2 separate regions of the Homo sapiens genome follow, and region 1 is linked to region 2. Evidence: promoter capture Hi-C in 16 types of primary human blood cells and fetal thymus (Javierre and others, 2016). All regions are on one chromosome and are shown on one strand. Each heading gives the region's core, a stretch centred on a gene start or on the middle of the fragment in contact. The rest is flanking DNA. Distances are from core to core; before and after follow the strand shown. Region 1 holds the start of GAS5 (growth arrest specific 5). Region 2 overlaps RABGAP1L (RAB GTPase activating protein 1 like).

Region 1 (5,045 bases), core at 2,166-4,665, 870 kb before region 2:
TTAACTTTTAAACAGCTAATCACTCCCATCTACAGATTAAGGTGTATATGCCACCAAAACCTTTTGCCACCTTAAAAATTTCCTTCAAAGTTTAAACTAACCTGCATTTCTTCAATCATGAATTCTGAGTCCTGAAATTAAGGGACAATACACAGTAAGACAACTTGCATACAATTAGGAGTAATCCAAAATCTCCAAACATTATAGAATGGCTATATTCCCCTTTTCGGGGCATAAACTAGAATGTTACCGCCAGATACATCAGATAGGAGCGAAAGACTTAATATTGCTCATCAGCGTTAGTCTGCTGAACTATGTTATCATCATTGTATCGGCTTTACAACACTTAAAAACCAGACTTGAGGCGGGGCATGGTGGCTCACGCCTGTAATCCCAGCACTTTGGGAGGTCAGTGCGGGCAGTATCACTTGAGGTCAAGAGTTCGAGACCAGCCTGGACAACATAGCTGTACAAAATTAGCCAGGCATGGTGTCACATGCCTGTAATCCCAGCTACTCAAGAGGCTGAGGCAGGAGAATTCCTTGAACCTGGGAGGCAGAGGTTGCAGTGAACTGATAGTGCCGCTGCACTCCATTCTGGGCAAGAGCTAGACTCTTGTCTAAAAAAAAAAAAAAAATACTTGGAACTGCTATACCTTTGCTTCTTTAAAACTTGCTCCACACAGTGTAGTCAAGCCGACTCTCCATACCTGTAGAAATTTAATCTCCTTTACCAATAGGTAGTAATAGGTGGATTTCTAAAAGATTTCCCAACTACTGTTTCAGTTTAAGATTAATCTCCATTTTCTTTCTCAGAGAGATTCCCATCTGCTTTAATTTTAAAATCATCACTAACAGTAGCTCAATCAATTAACGTTAACATCAATAAAACATGTACCTTTAAAAGGTATGACAGGAACTGTCTTCATGTCCTTACCCAAGCAAGTCATCCATGGATAAAAACGTTACCAGGAGCTGGAATACAAATGAGGACTTCCATTAAAATGCTAAACATCATTAAACTCTTTTCAAAGTTGTCTGTCACAGGGTTCTTCAGTGTTACCTTTGTCTACATGCTCATTTCAGGTCAGACATTTGATCAACATCATTACACAAACCCCGTTCCAAACATGCTCAAGGAAAACACATAAACACTGTTCCAGACATGCTCAAGGAAAATACAGTCAGTATTCATCAGCCAAGCCTTAAGCCATTAGCTCAGCAGTAAGCATATCACCATCAGCATTTTCATTAAGTCTATCTACTGTTTTCATTAATACTTACCAGAACCATTAAGCTGGTCCAGGCAAGTTGGACTCCACCTAAGAAATAAGAGTGGTCTTAGAATAGCCACAGATGAGTGTTCACCCCCTGCCAAAACTAACAAATGCCTTTAGTCAGTTAGAGCTAATTAAGACCTTCATGTTCAGTCAGCATTTGCTTATCATCATCCAGGCTGCATTTACAAACTTTCTTATTAATCATAACAAGACAAGAATCCGCCATTTATTTAATGCATTCAGCACTAGGAGGTAACTAAAAAGCCATTTGTGCCGTAGGAAGTTTGCCCAGTTACCTGCTTACTTGGATACAGTTTCACTTACCATTTCAACTTCCAGCTTTCTGTCTAATGCCTGTAATTTTAATACAAAATTGTCAGCAAAAAATATTTTAATGGTAGATTGGTGGTACACTGCTTAACCATTAACAGCAAACCACAACTACCCCAGATACATCAGACAGATAGTACATCTCTTCATGATTAAATCTGCTGAACTATGCAACCATCATAGTATCTGTTTTCACATTTTCTTCAGTATTAAACTTAGTATCAATATGAGAGCAAAATTCTCATTTGAAAAGAGGGGAGAGAAGCACTAACATAGATAATCATCATTGCTTTGGCTATTTTCTAATCCCTTAAAAGTGAGAAGTACAAAATAGAGGTGTCTCACCTGTGTGCCAATGGCTTGAGTTAGGCTTGCTCTTTAGGACCTGGGAAGAAACAACTTCATGTGAACTTAGGTGTACTCTCTATGTTCCCCAACTCACCATTTTGGGTGCCTCAGTTAAGATAATGGTGGTTAAGATCCTCATCATTCTAGCACTCAAGAGTAGCAAATAAACTGTCATCATTGTGGCACATCCAATGGCTTTAAACCTTTTTGAGAGGGAATTTTCAACTTACTTCAGTAGCTATTCTCATCCTTCCTTGGGGACACAACTAGAAAACAAAAAGATGCAAGCAAAACAGTGAGAATGAACCTCACAGCAGTCACGTTAAATATAAATGCTGTTAACATTAAAGCCTCAGAATAGAATTTCAGAAATCCCTTCTGTCCACTACTCTTAAAGCATCACAGGCTGAGACCACCTCTTAGATTTCATTCTTCCCACCATACTTTCCCCAATTCTTACCTGTCCATAAGGTGCTATCCAGAGCCACACTGCATCTGCACCCAGCACCATACCTAAAGAGATCAGGTACAGATTTTAATTCATTGTTCCACGGTTCTTTTTTTTAAAGAGTGTTCTTTAAAAAAACGGTTCGTCTTTTTAAACCAATGATGCAGGTAACATACCATTCATTATCTAGCGACAGGTAAAGGATACACTTAATGTTACAAAGAAGCACTGCACCCGCAGTTAAGAACCACCGATGGCGGCCGGGCGCGGTGGCTCACGGCTTGTAATCCCAGTATGTTGGGGGACCACGGCTGGTGGATCACCTGAGGTCAGGAGTTCAAGACCAGTCTCGCCAACATGGTGAAACCCCGTCTCTACTAAAAATATAAAAGCCTAGCATGGTGGCGCGCGCCTGTAGTCCCAGTTACTTGGGAGGCTGAGGCAGAACTGCTTAACTCGGGACGCGGAGGTTGCCATTAACCGATGTCGAGCCACTGCATTCCAGCCTGGGTGACAGAACGAGGCTCGGTCTCAAAAAAGAAAAAAGAAACACTAATGGAAATATTGGTGACACTGCGGAATGCAGGCACTTAAGCACGTGGACTACCACCGACAGCCTTTCATGAGAGCGGACGGCTGATGGAGGCTCGGGTCACGGCCCTTAACAATAGCTTACTCGGGTGACTCGGCATGTGCCACCATCAGAGCGGTTGGCATTCATCATTACTCTCAGATGTCCCTACCAACACAGGCTTCATCAGAGGCAGGGCACGAGAGCCGAGGCTTCTCCGCAGTTCTACTCTAACATAGTCGCAGCTTAGGTCACGCATGCACCATATGTGCAATCCCCCACCATCCTCAACTTGTAGGCCCTGCAAAGGCGCGCGACTGGCTTAGAAGTCCCAGTCAATTCAGGGTGACCTTAGCAGACAAAGGCTGGAGCGCCCCAAAACCCGCAACATTCGCAAAGATAAAACATACCTCACAGGAGTCGACTCCTACCTCGAAAAGACAGTATGGTGCCTGGGCTCCTGTATATAAGAGTTCTTTTGATGACGTCACGACGCACGCTCCCGGCAGCGTCCGCTTCGGCTCCTCCCCCTAACCTCCCTCAATCTTCCTCTCATCCAGTATCACCTTCTTCCCACCCCTTAAGTCCGCCCCTTTTCCCCGCCCTTCCTCGCCATTGTGGGCAGAGACATGACCGTCCACGTGATGCCGTGCTCCCGCCCTCCTCCCGACTGAGGAGGAAGAGCAGAGAGGGGAGGGGGCGCGAGGCAAGGAAAGCTCTGGGGATGGGGGAAGGGGGGGCGGTGTAAGGCTGAGTGATTTCCTTCCGGCACGTCGCCCGCTCCGTGGGAGGGGGTGGGGGATTTCACTTCCGGGACGGTGTTCCGGCCCATTCCGGCCCATTTCCACCCCCGGAGGTAGGTGCTGCTCCTTGACTGGACTCGGGCCCCACACCCCAGTGCCACTTCCCTGCACCGGGGTCACCTCGCCCGCCCTCCGCCGCAGCGCGCTCCTGGGGCGCTCAGCTACTTTCCTTCACCCCGCCTCCAGGCACCGGGCGACCTTCCACCCCCTTGGCCCCCGGCCGGGCTGATCTGCCGGACCCGCCCCCTCGCGGGGCCCCTCCCTCAGGACCCCGGGAAGGGCGGCCCCCTCCCCCACCGCAGCCGGGACACACCCAGATACGCACACCCACCTCCTGGCAGCTCCCCGCCCGCCGCCGCCTGGAGCCGGTCCCTGGGCGCCGCCCCCTTCCTAGTTCTCACCTGAGCGCTGGCTCCCCCGCCCGACGCCTTGTCCCCATCTTCTCCGAAGTTCCTCAGTGACATTTTGCCCTTTAGCCAGTTCCCCTCTCCCCAGGCTTCCTAACGCAGAAGAAAGCTGCTCAAGTGCTGGAGTGGCCAACCCCATGCCGTTCCCAATTCTCCCTTTTACAGCTCTCACCCCTCCAGTGCCGACGGTAGCGAAAGACTTTCCTCCAGGGGCTTCCTCACTGGGGAATTGCCGGAAAGAGCAAACAAAAAAGGCGCTGGTGTAGGCTCCAAAATAAACACATCTGAATTCATGATGGCATCGACAGAGGCTCTTATTGGATTAAAAGTTTCAAAACAAACAATAACGCTTTGGAAAAAGGTCAGATTGGCTAAAGTTGATTGTTGAAAACAGTGTATACACTTCCCTATTTAATAAGTGTGTTGTTAATGCGGGGCAGTACTGTGAGCTTGGCAGAGTAAGTTCCTGAAGTTTCAGGTGTGGTGTAACTATGTAATATATAGATAAGTGAACGCACATTGGGCTTAAGTAAATGTCTTCCTGTTCGGATTTATACAAACTATTTTCAGTAGTTGAAACTGTACTTTCAACTATCTTGTATACAGCTTCAGGTTTAGTGTTTCAGCCATTTTTTAAAAATATTTTAATGGAAAAATGTTGGCATACTTGGTAAATGCTGTATTTTTTCATCGGATCTGGAGAACTAAGTTTCAGGATGGAAGTATTCATCACCACCTCGGAATTGCCAACTTCGAATTTGGCAGATTTACCCAGCTTTCCTAATTTTGACAACTGAACTTCACATTCTCTGCATCTTGGTTGAATCCTGGCACAGCTGTGGGATTTTTCCTAGAGTTT
Region 2 (4,899 bases), core at 1,149-3,648:
GAAAACTATGCTCTTAAATTATCATGATTGCTTGAAAACTTGGTAATGCTCAGTTCTCAGTCTGGTTTCATACTAGAAACTCCTGGAAGTTCTTAAAAATACAAGTGACCACATTCTACTCCTGAGAAATTTCTATTTATTTGACCTAAGATGGATCTCCTGCCTCTGTGTGTTATGAAAGCTCCCCAGGTGATTTTAATAAGCAGCCATGGTTGAGAGCCAATGGTCTAATGGAAAGAGAACTGAATTATAATCAGGAAACTTGTCATTCCAGTCTTAATTCTGTGAACTCAGGTAAATCATCTAACATATTTAAGCTTGCATTGTAAAATGGAGGTAATTAATAATGGCCTATATGCCGGATTAATATTTTTACAGTTGAATGAAACTATATACTCAAAAGTGCTTTGCAGTAAAGTGTTATACAGATGGTGGCATAGCAATTAAGATTTACTACGCAATATACTACTGTGAAGTGGTATGTTTAGTCTTTTGTACTTCTTGGCAGAAAGATGCTAGATCCCCTGTGGCAGAAAGAAACTTAGGCTCCTTAGCGATCCTCAGGGTATATTATTATGATTCTTAAAGTTCACTCTGTATTTTTATGTGTACCAGGCTGCTAGTGTCTCTAGGTGATAGGGGGAAAAGGTAGAGGAAAGGGTGGAGTTGCTCCTGCTGGTGATTTTTTAAAATTGTGAGTTCCTATAATTAGTAACATCCTTCTTACATCTTCATAGAGACATGGTTGGTAGCAGTGGAGTCGTTTATATAACTTTACAAACCCTCTCTTGTGTACTCTTTTTCAATGTTATTCTCTTAAATCACTTCTGTCTCTGCTTTCCCTAGTGTTTAAGCTTCACTAACATTTACCTATATATAAATGGATGAGGACAGAAGAGAAAGGGTCCCCAAAGATGAATACACTCATTACTGGTTTCCCAACATGATATAAACCTAGGACTTCACCCCTTGGAGGGATGAAAGTTTACTATGCATAGCATTTCCTGGTGTGTCAGTCTCGGTACAGCCTCTTGCTCAATTCATCAGCTGTTTCCAGGCAAAATTACATACCACTTCTTGAGTGTTTTAAAGCCTCCTAACTGTATATATGTGAGTTCTTTGATATATTGACTTCTTTTTCTTTGAGTCGATTCCCAGTAGTGGCATTGCTGGATCAAATGGTAATTATATTTTTATTTTTTTGAGAAATCTCCATACTGTTTTCCATAGTGGCTGTACTAGTTTACATTCCCACCAACAGTGTATATGAGTTCCCTTTTCTCCACTTTCTTGTCAACATCTGTCTTTTTTAATAATAGGGATTCTGGCTGAGGTATGCTATCTCATTGTGGTTTTGATTTGCATTTCTCTGATGATTCATGAGGTTGAACATTTTTTCATATACCTGTTGGCTGTTTGTATTTATTTTTTTGAGAAATGGCTATTCATATACTTTGCCCAAGTATGAATGGGATTATTTGTTTTTTTCCTGTTGAGTTGAGTTCCTTATCTGTTCTATATATTAGTTCCTGTTGGATAAATAATTTGCAAATATTTTATCCCATTCTGCAGGTTGTCTCTTCACTCTGTTGATTTTTTTGTTTTGTTTTTTTTTTTTTGTGTGTGGGAGCTTTTTAGTTTAATTAATTCCCAATCACTTATTTTTGGTTTTGTTGCCTGATCTTTTGAGGCCTTTGTAACAAATTCTTTGCCTAAACCAACAACCAGGAGAGGGTTCCCTAGATTTTTTCTTCTAATATTTCTATAGTATCAGGTTTTACTTTTAAGTCTTTAATCTACTTTGAGTTCATTTTTGTATATGGTGAGATAATGGTCCAGTTACATTCTTCTGCATGGCTATACAATTTTCCCAGCACCGTTTATTGAAGAGATTGTCCTTTCCCCAGTGTAAGTTTTTGTTGTTTGTTTTTGTGTTTTTTTGAGACAGAGTCTTGCCTTGTCACCCAGGCTGGAGTGCAGTGGCATGATCACTGCTCACTGTGGCCTCAACCTCATGGGCCCAGATGATCCCCCTGCCTCACCCTCCCAAGTAGCTCAGACTACAGGCATTTGCTGCCACACCTGACTGGTGTTTTATTTTTTGTAGAGATGGGGTCTCACTCTGTTGCCTAGGCTGGTTTTGAACTCCTGGGTTCAAGCAATCCTCCTGCCTCAGCCTTCCAAAGTGTTGGGATTACAGGTGTGAGCCACTGTACCCGGCCCCCAGTATAAATTCTTGTTGGCTTTGTTGAAGATCAGTTGGCTGTAACTATGTGTCTTTATTTCTGAGTTCTCTGTTTTGTTCTACTGGTCTATGTGGCTACTTTTATACCATGTTGTGGCATTTTTAAGGATTTTTTTTTTAAGTGGGGAGTTTGAGACCAGCCTGGGCAACATGGCAAAAGCCTATTTCTACAAAAAAAAAAAAAAAAAAAAAAAAAGTAGAAAAATTAGCCAGGCATGGTGGCATGCGCCTATAGACCCAGCTACTTGGGAGGCTGAGGTGGGAGGATTGCTTGAGCCTGGAAGGTTGAGGCTGTGGTGAGCCATGATAGCACTACTATGCTCCAGCCTGGGTGACAGAGCAAGACCCTGTCTCAAAAAAAAAAGAAGAAGAAGAAGAGGAAGAGGAGGGGGAGGGGGGAGGAGGAGGAAAGAAGAAGAAGAGGAGGAGGGGGAGGGGGAGGAGGAAGAAAGAAGAAGAGGAAGAGGAGAGGGAGGGGGAGGAGGAGGAAAGAAGAAGAAGAGGAGGAGGGGGAGGGGGAGGAGGAGGAAAGAAGAAGAAGAAAGAAAAGGGGGCCAGATGCGGTGGCTCAGCTTGTAATCCCAGCACTTTAGGAGGCCAAGGCAGGTGGATCACTTGAGGTCAGGAGTTCGAGACCAGCCTAACTAATGTGGTGAAACCCATCTCTACTAAAAATACAAAAATTAGTTGAGTGTAGTGGCGCACACCTGTAATCCCAGCTACTCGGGAGGCTGAGGCAGGAGATTTGCTTAAGCCCAGGAGGCGGAGGTTGCAGTGAGCTGAGATCGCGCCACTGCACTCCAGCCTAAGCGACAGAGCAAGACTTCATTTCAAAGAAAAAGGAAGAAAGAAAAGTGGTATGAGCACAAGAACTCTAACAAAAGATTTCTGGATGGATTGGGTTAATGGAAAACTGGCAGAAGCCTGGAGGAAGGAGAAGGTCAAGATCAGCTAATAGTAGCTGATAAGAAGTCCTGTATCATTATGAAGAGTATCAAAAGCACCCCTGCAGCCTGGGATGGTTGACTGATAACTATAACTGTAAAACAATATAATCCGATGTGTATCATGACTTAAGAGAATTTGAGAAGAACAGAAAGGTGAATGCCAGTATTCAATGGCCAATGGAACATGTGTTTAGGGACTTTATAGCAATACTTCAGTGCTCTAATGTTCAGGTCATACCTCCCTATCATTCCCTAGGTGGTGTGTTATCTGTTTATATTTTTATCTGCTATCCTAATCTGGGAGTCCTCTGAGTGTAGGGATGACTTATCCATCTTTGTAAATGTCCTCAAAATGCTTGACATATGATGAATATGTTACCACAACACCAGGGGTTCAGTCTAGGTCCTGCTGCTCACAGCACAGAAAGCCAATGACTAAGATGATGATTATTGCCAAGGAAGAAGGCTTTAATTGGGGGCTGCAGCAGACGAGATGAGATGGGAGCTCAGTCTCAAATCCATCTCCCTGACAAACTGAAACTAGGGACTTATATAGCAGGGAAGAGATATAGCAATATGTAAGAAACAGGAACTAGAGAGGGGTAAGGAAGCAATTATGGTGAATGAGGGGCCCTCATCTCATTATCTGGATATGGTGATCTGGTGAGTTCCAGTTCTTCCATACTTTTTTTTGAGAGACCTGAAGGTCCTTTGTTGAGTAAGGAATCCGATAAAACAAATGTTAAGGTTCAAGCTTCAAGACCAAAAACGTCAATTTCTATGTTTATCCAAAAAACTATCTATTGAACTATTGGGTCAGTTTGAAACACATGTTAAAACCTCTAATTTGATTTCCTTATCTCATTTTGCCTGCCTTGTTTCTGAAAGTTTTATCTAATTCAGATGTCACAAACCTCTAAAAATTTCTTTCCTTGTTCAACAAACCCCCTATGTCACAAGTTTACCTGCATAACAAACCTGAACATATACCTTTGAACCTAAAATAAAAGTTTAAAATAAATGAATAAATAAATAAATAATAGCAAAACTATGTTTTTTTAAAAAAAATTCTTCTCAGAGTCACCTATGATAAAGACTTCTAGATTTTGTAGATATTTTACTACTTAATCTGTACAAACAAGTGTAAACCAAGAAAATATTTTAAAATTACTCATGACTAAACAGATGCATTCATGTTAAACTTATCTCTCATCCCTACCCATTCTTGAACTCTTTCTCATTCACTAGTCATTTATGAAAAAACTGTATAACAAATAACTATAATAAAATGGAAAATATATAATTAAGCTAGAGGAAAGGAAGGGTGGGAGTCATCCTTTTTTTTTGGTATATGTTAGTAAATTAATAGTAAAAATAAGGGAGGACTTAGCCATAAGGGTTTTAAAACAGCATGTCTCAATTTGTATACAAGGCTACTATGTTGGTCTGTGAAATACGTAAAAAAAAAAAAAAAAAAAAAAAAAAAGCGATTGATTTTCAGTGCTGCAATCCTGACCTCTAGTGGACATTCAGAACAAAACCCAAACATCACATTCTTTTATTTAGTTACTCCATCAAGCACCATTAGCCAACCTAAAATATTAAACTTTCAAAGAGATTAAAACATGAGAAGCAGAATAAAGTAAAAGAATTTTTGGCTAATATTCTAAATATTCTTGCTGTAGAACCTGTATTTAAGAGCAGCTA

What was found. Contacts are between HindIII fragments. The CHiCAGO score rates a contact against its expected background, and 5 or more counts as called.
Region 1: the fragment with the promoter of GAS5 here is called in contact with a fragment that was not itself captured in region 2 in 1 of 17 cell types (neutrophils); the score reaches 11.7 in neutrophils.

The regions. Positions count from the first base shown.
Region 1 is chr1:173,864,574-173,869,618 of GRCh38, forward strand. It overlaps GAS5 (growth arrest specific 5), which reads right to left and starts at 3,416. Exons shown (of 12, transcript NR_002578.4): 1 at 3,387-3,416; 2 at 2,418-2,470; 3 at 2,188-2,223; 4 at 1,955-1,994; 5 at 1,604-1,633; 6 at 1,284-1,321; 7 at 898-974; 8 at 656-709; 9 at 102-131. It overlaps ZBTB37 (zinc finger and BTB domain containing 37), which reads left to right and starts at 3,807. Exons shown (of 5, transcript NM_001122770.3): 1 at 3,807-3,832; 2 at 4,352-4,547. It overlaps SNORD75 (small nucleolar RNA, C/D box 75), which reads right to left and starts at 2,365; the gene lies at 2,306-2,365. It overlaps SNORD74 (small nucleolar RNA, C/D box 74), which reads right to left and starts at 3,172; the gene lies at 3,101-3,172. It also overlaps SNORD80, SNORD79, SNORD78, SNORD44, SNORA103 and SNORD77, and 1 more gene. RefSeq lists a silencer at 3,842-4,251 and an enhancer at 3,886-5,045. The HindIII fragment of the contact is 5,638 bases long and covers 1-5,045 here.
Region 2 is chr1:174,739,440-174,744,338 of GRCh38, forward strand. The region is part of intron 17 of RABGAP1L (RAB GTPase activating protein 1 like); the gene reads left to right. Among named protein-coding and RNA genes, the nearest start is that of RABGAP1L-AS1, 210 kb to the right of the region's middle. The HindIII fragment of the contact is 3,092 bases long and covers 853-3,944 here.